Regions from separate parts of the Homo sapiens genome. Here regions 1 and 3 are each linked to region 2. Evidence: promoter capture Hi-C in human tissues and cell types (Jung and others, 2019). All regions are on one chromosome and are shown on one strand. The core of a region is centred on a gene start or on the middle of the fragment in contact, and the rest is flanking DNA. Distances in the headings are between cores, read along the strand shown. Region 1 overlaps LOC105372269 (a long non-coding RNA gene). Region 2 holds the start of ZNF560 (zinc finger protein 560). Region 3 has its middle 15 kb from the start of ZNF426-DT.

Region 1 (3,118 bases), core at 242-2,741, 41 kb before region 2:
TGGGAGGACTGAGAGTGGGTAAAGGAAATGCTCCATTTCCTGAAGCTTGTTTCAACTGCAGGAAACATGGGCATACGAGAGAGAATGTAGAAAAAATCAGAGGGTCCAACTACCCATTGATGGAAAAAAGAAAACTGCTGAACCAGGTCTATACCTGAAGTGTAAAAAAGGAAAGCACTGGGCCAATCAGTGTCATTCTAAATTTGATAAAGACGGAAACCCGATTTCGAGAAACGCCATGAGGGGCCAATCCTGAGCCACATTCCAAACCAGGGCATTCCTGGCTCAGACCACTCCCTCACCCCTGTATAATGCTTGTCCCCCGCCACAGCTGGTAGTGCCTCAGTAGATCTGTGTTGCACCAGGGCTGTGAGTCTCCTGCCTGGAAAGCCACTGCAGAAGGTACCAACAGGAGTCTGCGGACCTCTGCCAGCAGGAATGGTAGGACTACTTCTGGGAAGATCTAGTTTAAATTTAAAAGGAGTGCAGGTTCATACAGGAGTAATTGATTTGGATTGTAACGGGGAAATTCAAATCGTTATATCTACCTCTGTTCCTTAAAAGGCAGAACCGGGAGAGCGTATAGGGCAGCTTCTGATTTTACCGTATGTGGGACTAGGAAAAAGTGAAACTAAAAGAACAAGGGGATTTGGCAGTACAAATAAACAAGGGAGAGCCACCTACTGGGTAAATCAAATTACTGATAACCATCCTACCTGTGAAAAAACTATTCAGCGAAAGAAATTTAAAGGTTTGGTAGATACAGGAGTGGACATTTCAATCATATCTCTACATCACTGGCCGTCTGCATGGCCAATTCAGCCTGCTCAATTTAACATAGTTGGAGTTGATAAAGCCCCTGAAGTATATCAAAGTAGTTATACTTTGCATTGTAAAGGGCCCGATGGACAACCTGGGACTATTCAACCAATTATAACTTCTATACCTATAAATTTATGGGGGCTCTCCCCCCATACATTTATTACAACAATGGGGAGCACAAGTTCTAATTCCTGAGCAATTATACAGCCCTCAAAGTCAACATATGATGCATGAAATGGGGTATGTCCATGGTATGGAACTAGGAAAAAATTTGCAAGGTTTGAAGGAATCTCTTCAAGCGGAAAGACAAAGTTCCCGCCAAGACTTAGGATACCATTTTTGATGGTAAGCCTGCAGAGCCTATCCTGTTAAAATGGCTGACAGACAGGCCAATATGGATAGAACAGTGGCCGCTGAGTAAAGAGAAACTGGAGGCTTTAAATGAACTAGTCAAAGAACAGCTTCAAAAGGAACATATAGCTCAAACTCTCTCCCCTTGGAATTCCCCAGTTTTCGTAATTAAGACAAAACCAGGTAAATGGAGAATGTTAACTGACTTAAGGGCTATTAATTCAGCTATATAACCTATTGGGGCATTACAGCCAGGACTGCCTTCTCCTGCTATGATTCCAAAAAATTGGCCTTTAATAGCCATAGATTTAAAAGACTTGTTTCTTTACTATCCCCTTAGCTCAGCAGGACTGTGAACAGTTTGCAATTACGATTCCTGTGGTAAACAACTTGCAGGCTGCTAAGCGTTTTAATTGGAAAGTGTTGCACAAGGCATGTTAAACAGTCCAACAATTTGCCAGACTTATGTAGGGCAAGCAATTGAACCTACTCATAAAAGATTTTCACAGTGTTACATTATTCATCATATGGATGATATTCTTTGTGCTTCCCCCACTCCGGAAATATTACTCCAATGTTACGGTCACTTGGAGAATTCAATTTCTCATGCCAGTTTAATTATAGCTCCTGACGCAATTCAGACTACTACTCCTTACGTCTACTTGGGGGCCTTAGTAAATGTCACCACAATAATGCCACAGAAAGTAGCCATATGTAGGATCAATAGAAAACATTGAATCAGACTTTCAAAATTTACTAGGGTATATTAATTGGATACCGCCTGCTCTAGGCATTCTGACTTATGCCATGAGTACTCTGTTTTCTATCTTTAGAGGAGATCCTAGTGTCACAAGCCCTTGGCAATTAACAAAAGAAGCTGAGGCAGAGCTGCAGCTAATTGAAAAGCAAGTCCATAAGGCCCAAATAAATAGAATAGATCTAGAGAATACTCTAGATTTGCTCATTTTTCCAACTCAGCATTCACCTACTGGTGTTATTGTTCAAGAGCGAGATCTTGTGGCGTAGCTTTTCCTTCCATATACTAATTCACGGACTTTGACTCCTTATTTGGATCGAATTGCTACTATGATAGGAAATGGGAGAACTCGGATTGTTAAATTACACGGATATGATCCTGGAAAAATTATTATCCCTCTCACAAAGACACAAATACAGCAAGCTTTTATAAATAGTCTTACTTGTTAAACCCATTTAGCTGACTTTGTGGGTATTCTCAATAACCATTTTCCTAACATGAAACTGTTTCAATTTTTTGAAATTAACTAATTGGATTCTCCCTAAAATGACTAAATCAAACCAATTGAAGGTACTGAGAATGTCTTCGCAGATGGGTCTAGTAATGGTAAAGCCTCTTATTCTGGATTGAAAGGTAAAGTTTTTCAGACGCCCTATACTTCAGCTCAAAAAGCGGAGCTTGAGGCTGTAATTGAGGCATTGACTGCTTTTAATATGCCTATTAATATGATTTCTGATTCTTCATATGTGGTTCTACACAGTTAGTTGAAAATGCTCAGCTACAATTCCACACATAAGAGCAACTGATGACTTTATTTACCCAATTGCAAACAGCAGTTAGGAGTAGAATGCACCCTTTTTACATCACTCACATTAGGGCTCATACACCTCTTCCAGGACCTTTGACTGTAGGGAATCAAATGGCTGATCACCTAGTTGCTACTGCAATATCTAATGCTAGACAATTCCACAATTTAACACACGTTAATGTCTCTGGTCTCAGACACAGATACAGCATTACCTGGAAAGAAGCTAAAGCTATTAACCAGCGATGCCCAACTTGCCAAATGATTCCTTGAGGATTGGAACCTAATTCTCTTTGGCAAATGGATGTCACACATGTTCCCTCGTTTGGGAGACTAGCTTATGTACATGTATGTGTAGACACCTTTTCTCACTTTGTCTGGGC
Region 2 (3,210 bases), core at 228-2,727:
ATCTTGAATAGAGCTCAGATCCAAAAACATTCCGTTATATTTTAGAAGAATTTGGAGAATTTTCATTTATTATACATAGTAAATATTAGATAACATTATTATTTTTAATTTTCTTGATGCAAATAGTATTACGGTTTTAGTAAAACAACACTCTTATCATTGAGTCAGGCATTACCCACTACTTAAATGTCGAGCTTACCATCCTGGCTATCACGGTGAAACCCCATCTCTACAAAAATACAAAAAATTATCCGGGCACGGTGGCACACCCCTGTAATTACAGCCACTTGGGAAGCTGAGGCAGGAGAATCGCTTGAACCCGGGAGGCAGAGGTTGCAGTGAGGCGAGATCGCGCCACTGCACTCCAGCCTGGGCGACACAGCTAGACCCCCTCTCAAAAAAAAAAAAAAAAAAAAAATGTCGAGCTTCATCTCTGCAATGAATTTCCCATTGACTCTCAAACTGTTCACCATAAAATTTATTTACGAGACGGCGAATACACAAAACGCTAAAAAACAGGTGCAGCTACAATGGATATTTATTCGTGGTACTGGATGGTCAACATACCCATAGGTTTAAGTTTTTTCGAAAAAAAATGCGGGAAAAATACACTTAGTACAGTCATCCTGTTAATGGTAAATTCGATTATTCTAGTATTAGTGTGTAAACCCTCCATCCTTTCTTCCAGGAAGCCTGGTTATGAAGCTCTTTGGAGACGTACAGAGCTAGGAACTTCAGATGAAAAGAATGGCTGAGTATTCTTAGGTTTCTTTAGTAGAAAGACTCGCGGTCTACAAACGTTTATATGCACATGCAGAAATACGCACACCCTAGACAACTAAGAAAGCACCTTTCTACCGGAACGTAATGTGTCAATAAAAAATATACAGGTTTCACAAAGGCAAAATGCCAAAATCTCACATGAAACACTCGTTTGCATAAAAAAGGAAGCAGCTGCCCCCTTAAACCAACTTTTTCCCAATGCTCACCCGAACACGGTGGAGTCGCCAGGTCCGTGGGGCTACAGGATCTTGGGGACGGAGTCAATCGAACGCGAACGGCAAAATTCTTTTCCCTCTGAAACACAATTCACAAACGTTGCCTTGGAGACTTATTTTTTAAGGCCTCAGAACGCTTGGACACTTTTGAAGACGGGAACACACGGCTGAAAACAGCCCTCGGACGCGCCCATACTGCACTTCCCACCCGGCTCCTCTAGGGGACCGAAGGTCCCAATGGCCTCTTCGACGTGGCCTCACCCGATGGCTCCGCGACTCCTGCGGACTCCTGTGGAGTGGTCCAGGCCTCTGTAAGGAGGTTCCTCGATTACCCTGGGTCGATTGTGACCTCTGCCACCCCCCGAAACACCGCCCAACCCACTAGTCCACACGAGCCTCACCAAAGTAGTGAACGACCAGACAACACAAAGGAAAAAGTGGCTCTGAGGAAACAGGCGCCAGCGACCAAAAGAGAGAACTGGCGCGCCGCAACGTCACTTCCGTTTGGGGCATTGGAAGGGGCGTGGCTCGTTGTGTGGGCAGTTGGACAGGATGGAACTCTTCAGGATTCTAGTTTCCCTCCGCGTGGGTGCGGAGGTATCAAGGGGTCGGCTCAGTGCCTGGGTGGGCAAGAGAGAAATGGACCCACAGAGAAAGGTGGGGGTTAAATCAGGGCTGTGGGCGGGGCCCATGCCCGGGGGCGGGGCTGGAGGTGGGACCAGACCCAGCCGGTGGCTTCGGTGGCAGAATGGACCAGGAAGGCGAAACGTCGGGCGATGGACTCGCCCCTCAGGATGCTCATTAGAAACTTTCCCCACGTTCCTGGACCCCTTTCAGGATTCTCTCCAGTTGATAACCTGCCAATCCACAAAATGGCCTGCTTCCTGCATTCGATCACGTCTTTAGAACTTTATTTTCTCTTATTTCTTTTTATTTATCTGACCTTGCTAAACTCTAATCATTGATTCCTCTGCGTTTTCAGTTATCGATACTTTCTGTAAATATTGCAATTTTTTTCTTTTCTTTCTTTTTTCTTTTCTTTTCTTTTTTTCTTCGAGGTAGGGTCTGGCTCGGTTGCCAAGGCTGGAATGCAGTGGTAGGAACACGGCTCACTGCAGTCTCCACCTCTCCAGGCTCAAGCCATCCTTCCACCTCAGCCTCCCGAGTAGCTGGGACCACGGGCGCACCGCACCCGGCTAATTTTTGTATTATTATTATTATCATCATTATTATTATTTTGTAGAGACAGGATCTAACCATGTTGCCCAGGCTGGTCTGGAACTCCTGGGCTCAAGTGATCTGCCCGCCCTGCACTCCCGAAGTGGGATTACAGGCGTGAGCCATCATGCACCATGCCTGGCCTTATTGTATTTTTTTTTCTTCTTCAACAATGTATTTGTTACTATTTCTCAAATCTTATCAAATGATTCAAAGCCTCCTGTACTACTTTATGAAATAACACTGATACCAGGCATTCTTCACTTATTCTGTGCAGAAAAAGAAAGGACTGTTGGACTTGTGGTAGAGATTTAGTTGAATCTTCGGGTTATATTGGTATCTTTATAATACTGAGTCTTCCTATGTGTGAATATACAATATCTCTCTATTTAGGTCTTCTTTAAACTCTTTCAGTAATGTTTTGAAATTTTCAGTTTACAAATATTTTACCTCTTGGGGTAAAGTTATTCCCATGTAACTTATTTGTAAAAGGGATCACATTCTCAGTTTCCTTTTCTGATTGTTCATTGCTGGTGTATAGATACAAAACTAATTTTCATCTCTTGATGTTGTACTGTGCAACTTTACGGAATTTATTACAAGCTCTGCTAGTTTTCTTGTAGATTCTTCAAAATTCTCTATATATCAAATATCACCTATAAATATATTTTTATTTGTTCTATTCTAATTGAGAAACCTTTTATTTTATTTTCTTGTGTAATTGCTCTGGCTAGAATTTCCTGTAGAGGCTGGGCACGGTGGCTCACTCCTGTAATCCCAACATTTTGGGAGGCCGAGGTGGGTGGATCACCTGAGGTCAGGAGTTCAAGACCAGCCTGACCAACATGGTGAAACCCCGTCTCTACTAAAGATACAAAAAATTAGCCAGGCGTGGTGGTTGGCACCTGTAATCCCAGCTACTCGGGAGGCTGAGGCAGGAGAATCACTTGAACCTGGGAGGCGGAGGTTACGGAGTTTGCAGTGAGTGGAGATG
Region 3 (2,870 bases), core at 217-2,716, 55 kb after region 2:
TCAGCTCTGGCTGAGCCAGGGACATTTAGTGAGCCTCAGAGGGCAGGAAGTGCATGCCAATTGGCCCATGGGTGGCCATGGGCGGGCCTGGAAAAGGCACCAATTACCATTCCAGTTCATGGGACTGGCAGCCCAGCCACCAGCCTTCAGGCCGTCCCTGGCCAGAAGGAGGAACCTTACCAGGGACCTACCCCTTTCCCCCTGGGACTCTCTCATGTCTATCCTGCTGTTCATGGTGACCCGGCTTGGCCTGACTTTGCTCCAAGATAGGAGGGGGCGTGGACAGCAGGGAGAAGCCAGGCAGCTGGGGCAGGCATTAAACATTAGCCAGGCACAGTGGTGCATGTCTATAGTTCTAGCTACTCAGGAGGCTGAGGTAGGAGGACTGCCTGAGCCCAGCAGGCTGAAGCTGCAGTGAGCAGTGATCACACTGAGGTAGGAGGAATAATTTGACTCCAGAGGTGGGGCTCAGACCTGGACAAAATTGAGGACTAGCTAAAACAGGGATGGGGCAGAAGCAGCTTTCCATAAGACACGCCTACCAGTGAGCCATGTCAGTTTAACATTGCCATGGCAACACCCAGGAGTTTCCACCCCTTTCCATGGCAATGACCCGATGACCAAAGTTACCACCATTTTCCTACAAATTTCTGCATAAACTGCCCCTTAATCTACATGTAATTAAAAGTAGGTATAAATATGACCGCAAAACTGCCCTGAGCTGCTACTCTCAGCACACTGCCTATGAGGTTTCCCATAGGAGTAGTCACAAAGCTGTACCACCACCAGAGCTGAAACACTGCTTCTTCGATAAAGCTTCTTTCTTCTACCACCAGCTCACCCTGAATTATTTCCTGGCCAAGGCCAAAAACCCTCATTGGCTAAGTCCCAATTTGAAGCTTGCTTGTCCTACAGCAGCATGACTGCACTCCAGCCTGGGTGATGGAGTGAGAGCCTGGCTCAAAAAATATACTTTATCAAACAGAGGTATATTAGAGGTAAGTTAAGATAGAACAGTTTCTTAATTCTGAAAAAAACAAAACATTTGCGTAAAGAACAATCTTTTGAATAAAAGTCATAAAAACAGGCCAGGCGTGGTGGCTCATGCCTGTAATCCCAGCACTTTGGGAGGCTGAAGCAGGTAGATCAACTGAGGTCAGGAGTTCGAGACCAGCCTGACCAACATGATTAAATCCCATCTCTACAAAAAATACAAAAATTAGCTGGGCATGGTGGTGGGTGCCTGTAATCCCAGCTACTCAGGAGGCTGAGGTAGGAGAATTGCTTGAACCTGGGAGGTGGAGGTTGCTGTGAGCTGAGATCATGACATTGCACTCCAGCCTCAGCAACAGCGCATGACTCCGTCTCAAAAAAATAAAAAAGAAGCCCAGGCGTGGTGGCTCATACCTGTAATCTCAGCACTTTGGGAGGCTGAGGCAGGAGGATCAACTGAGGTCGGGAGTTCGAGACCAAACTGGCCAACATGGTGAAACCCCACCTCTACTAATAATACAAAAATTAGCCAGGCATCTTAGCGCACACCTGTAATCCCAGCTACTCGGGAGGCTGAGGCAGGAGAATCACTTGAACTCAGGAAGTAGAAGTTGCAATGAGCCAAGATTATGCCATTGCACTCCAGCCTGGGAGACAGAGCGAGTCTCTGTCTCAAAAAAAATAAATAAAATAAAATAAAAAGAATTTGCATTTGGGGAAGTTTGTCAAAGATGTTAGAAGGCTCAAAACATTTGATTGAAACAGGATAACAGCTCACTTGTTAGTAATCCATGTAAATACAGTGATAATCAAAAGTCATTAGTAGGAGTAAATAGAGTTACTAGGAAAAAATGAATCCTTTTAAAGCCCAGAGTTTTTTGTTGATTCTTTTTATTTATTTCAGGGGTAGATGGGGGACAGCGTCTCACTCAGTGGCCCAGGCTGGAGTGCAGCAGCACAAAAGTTCACTGCAGCATTGATCTCCCAGGCCTAAGTGATCTTCCCACCTCAGCCTCCCCAGTAGTTGAGACTACAGGCACACGTTACCACACCCAGCTAATTTTTGTATGTGTGTCTTTTTTTTTTTTTTTTTTTTTAAGAGATGGGCTTTCATCATGTTGCCCAGGCTGGTATCGAACTCCTGAACTCAAGTGATCCTCCCACCTCAGCCTCTCAAAGTGCTGGGATTCAGGCATGAAACACCATGCCCAACCAACCAGGTTTTTTTTTTTAAGTGATAAAAAACTTAATAAAGGCAATACAGGAAATTATCTCGATAATTTCTTGTAAAACCTTTCTTAGACCAGCTACCAAAAAGGTAAAGAAAAACCTTCTACAGTGTGATTATTTCTCCTTATGCAAAGTGCATTTAGATAACCTGGAAGTTGGCCAGGCATGGTGGCTCACACCTGTAATCCCAGCACTTGGGAAGCCGAGGCGGGTGGATCACTTGGGTCAGGAGTTCGAGACCAGCCTGGCCAACATGGTGAAACTCTTTCTCTACTAAAAAACACAAAAATTAGCCAGGGGTGGTGGCACACACCTGTAGACCCAGCTACCAAGGAGGCTGAGGCAGAGAATCACTTGAACCCAGGAGACAGAGGTTGCAGAGAGCTGAGATTGCGCCACTGAACTCCAGCCTGGGTGACAGAGCAAGAATCCATCTCAAAAAATAAAATAAAAATAAAAATAACCTGGAAGTTGAACGTGATGAAAAGTGTGCTTGGATTTAGTTAGGAATATGTCCAAGGCTATGAGTGTAAAAATTTAGGTACATCAAGAAAAGCCGAGAGTACAGAATCAAGTTATACAGAGCAAATACATTGCTTTTCTAGGCCTTCATGATAAATATTTCAGTGTCAGGCCATAATAGCCGA

What was found. The method cuts DNA at HindIII sites, captures the fragments that hold promoters and counts their contacts. A contact is called where the count stands out against the background at its distance.
Region 1: a fragment that was not itself captured here is called in contact with the fragment with the promoter of ZNF560 in region 2 in 2 of the 25 tissues and cell types used here (adrenal gland and pancreas).
Region 3: a fragment that was not itself captured here is called in contact with the fragment with the promoter of ZNF560 in region 2 in 2 of the 25 tissues and cell types used here (ovary and small bowel).

What each region holds. Positions count from the first base shown.
Region 1 is chr19:9,455,836-9,458,953 of GRCh38, forward strand. LOC105372269 (a long non-coding RNA gene) reads left to right here. Exons shown (of 3, transcript XR_007067133.1): 2 at 1-3,118. It also overlaps a transcript of ZNF560 not described here. Among named protein-coding and RNA genes, the nearest start is that of ZNF266, 22 kb to the left of the region's middle. The HindIII fragment of the contact is 4,913 bases long and covers 1-3,118 here.
Region 2 is chr19:9,497,139-9,500,348 of GRCh38, forward strand. It overlaps ZNF560 (zinc finger protein 560), which reads right to left and starts at 1,478. Exons shown (of 10, transcript NM_152476.3): 1 at 1,400-1,478; 2 at 990-1,077. The HindIII fragment of the contact is 15,358 bases long and covers 1-3,210 here.
Region 3 is chr19:9,552,538-9,555,407 of GRCh38, forward strand. No RefSeq gene overlaps it. Among named protein-coding and RNA genes, the nearest start is that of ZNF426-DT, 15 kb to the left of the region's middle. The HindIII fragment of the contact is 5,877 bases long and covers 1-2,870 here.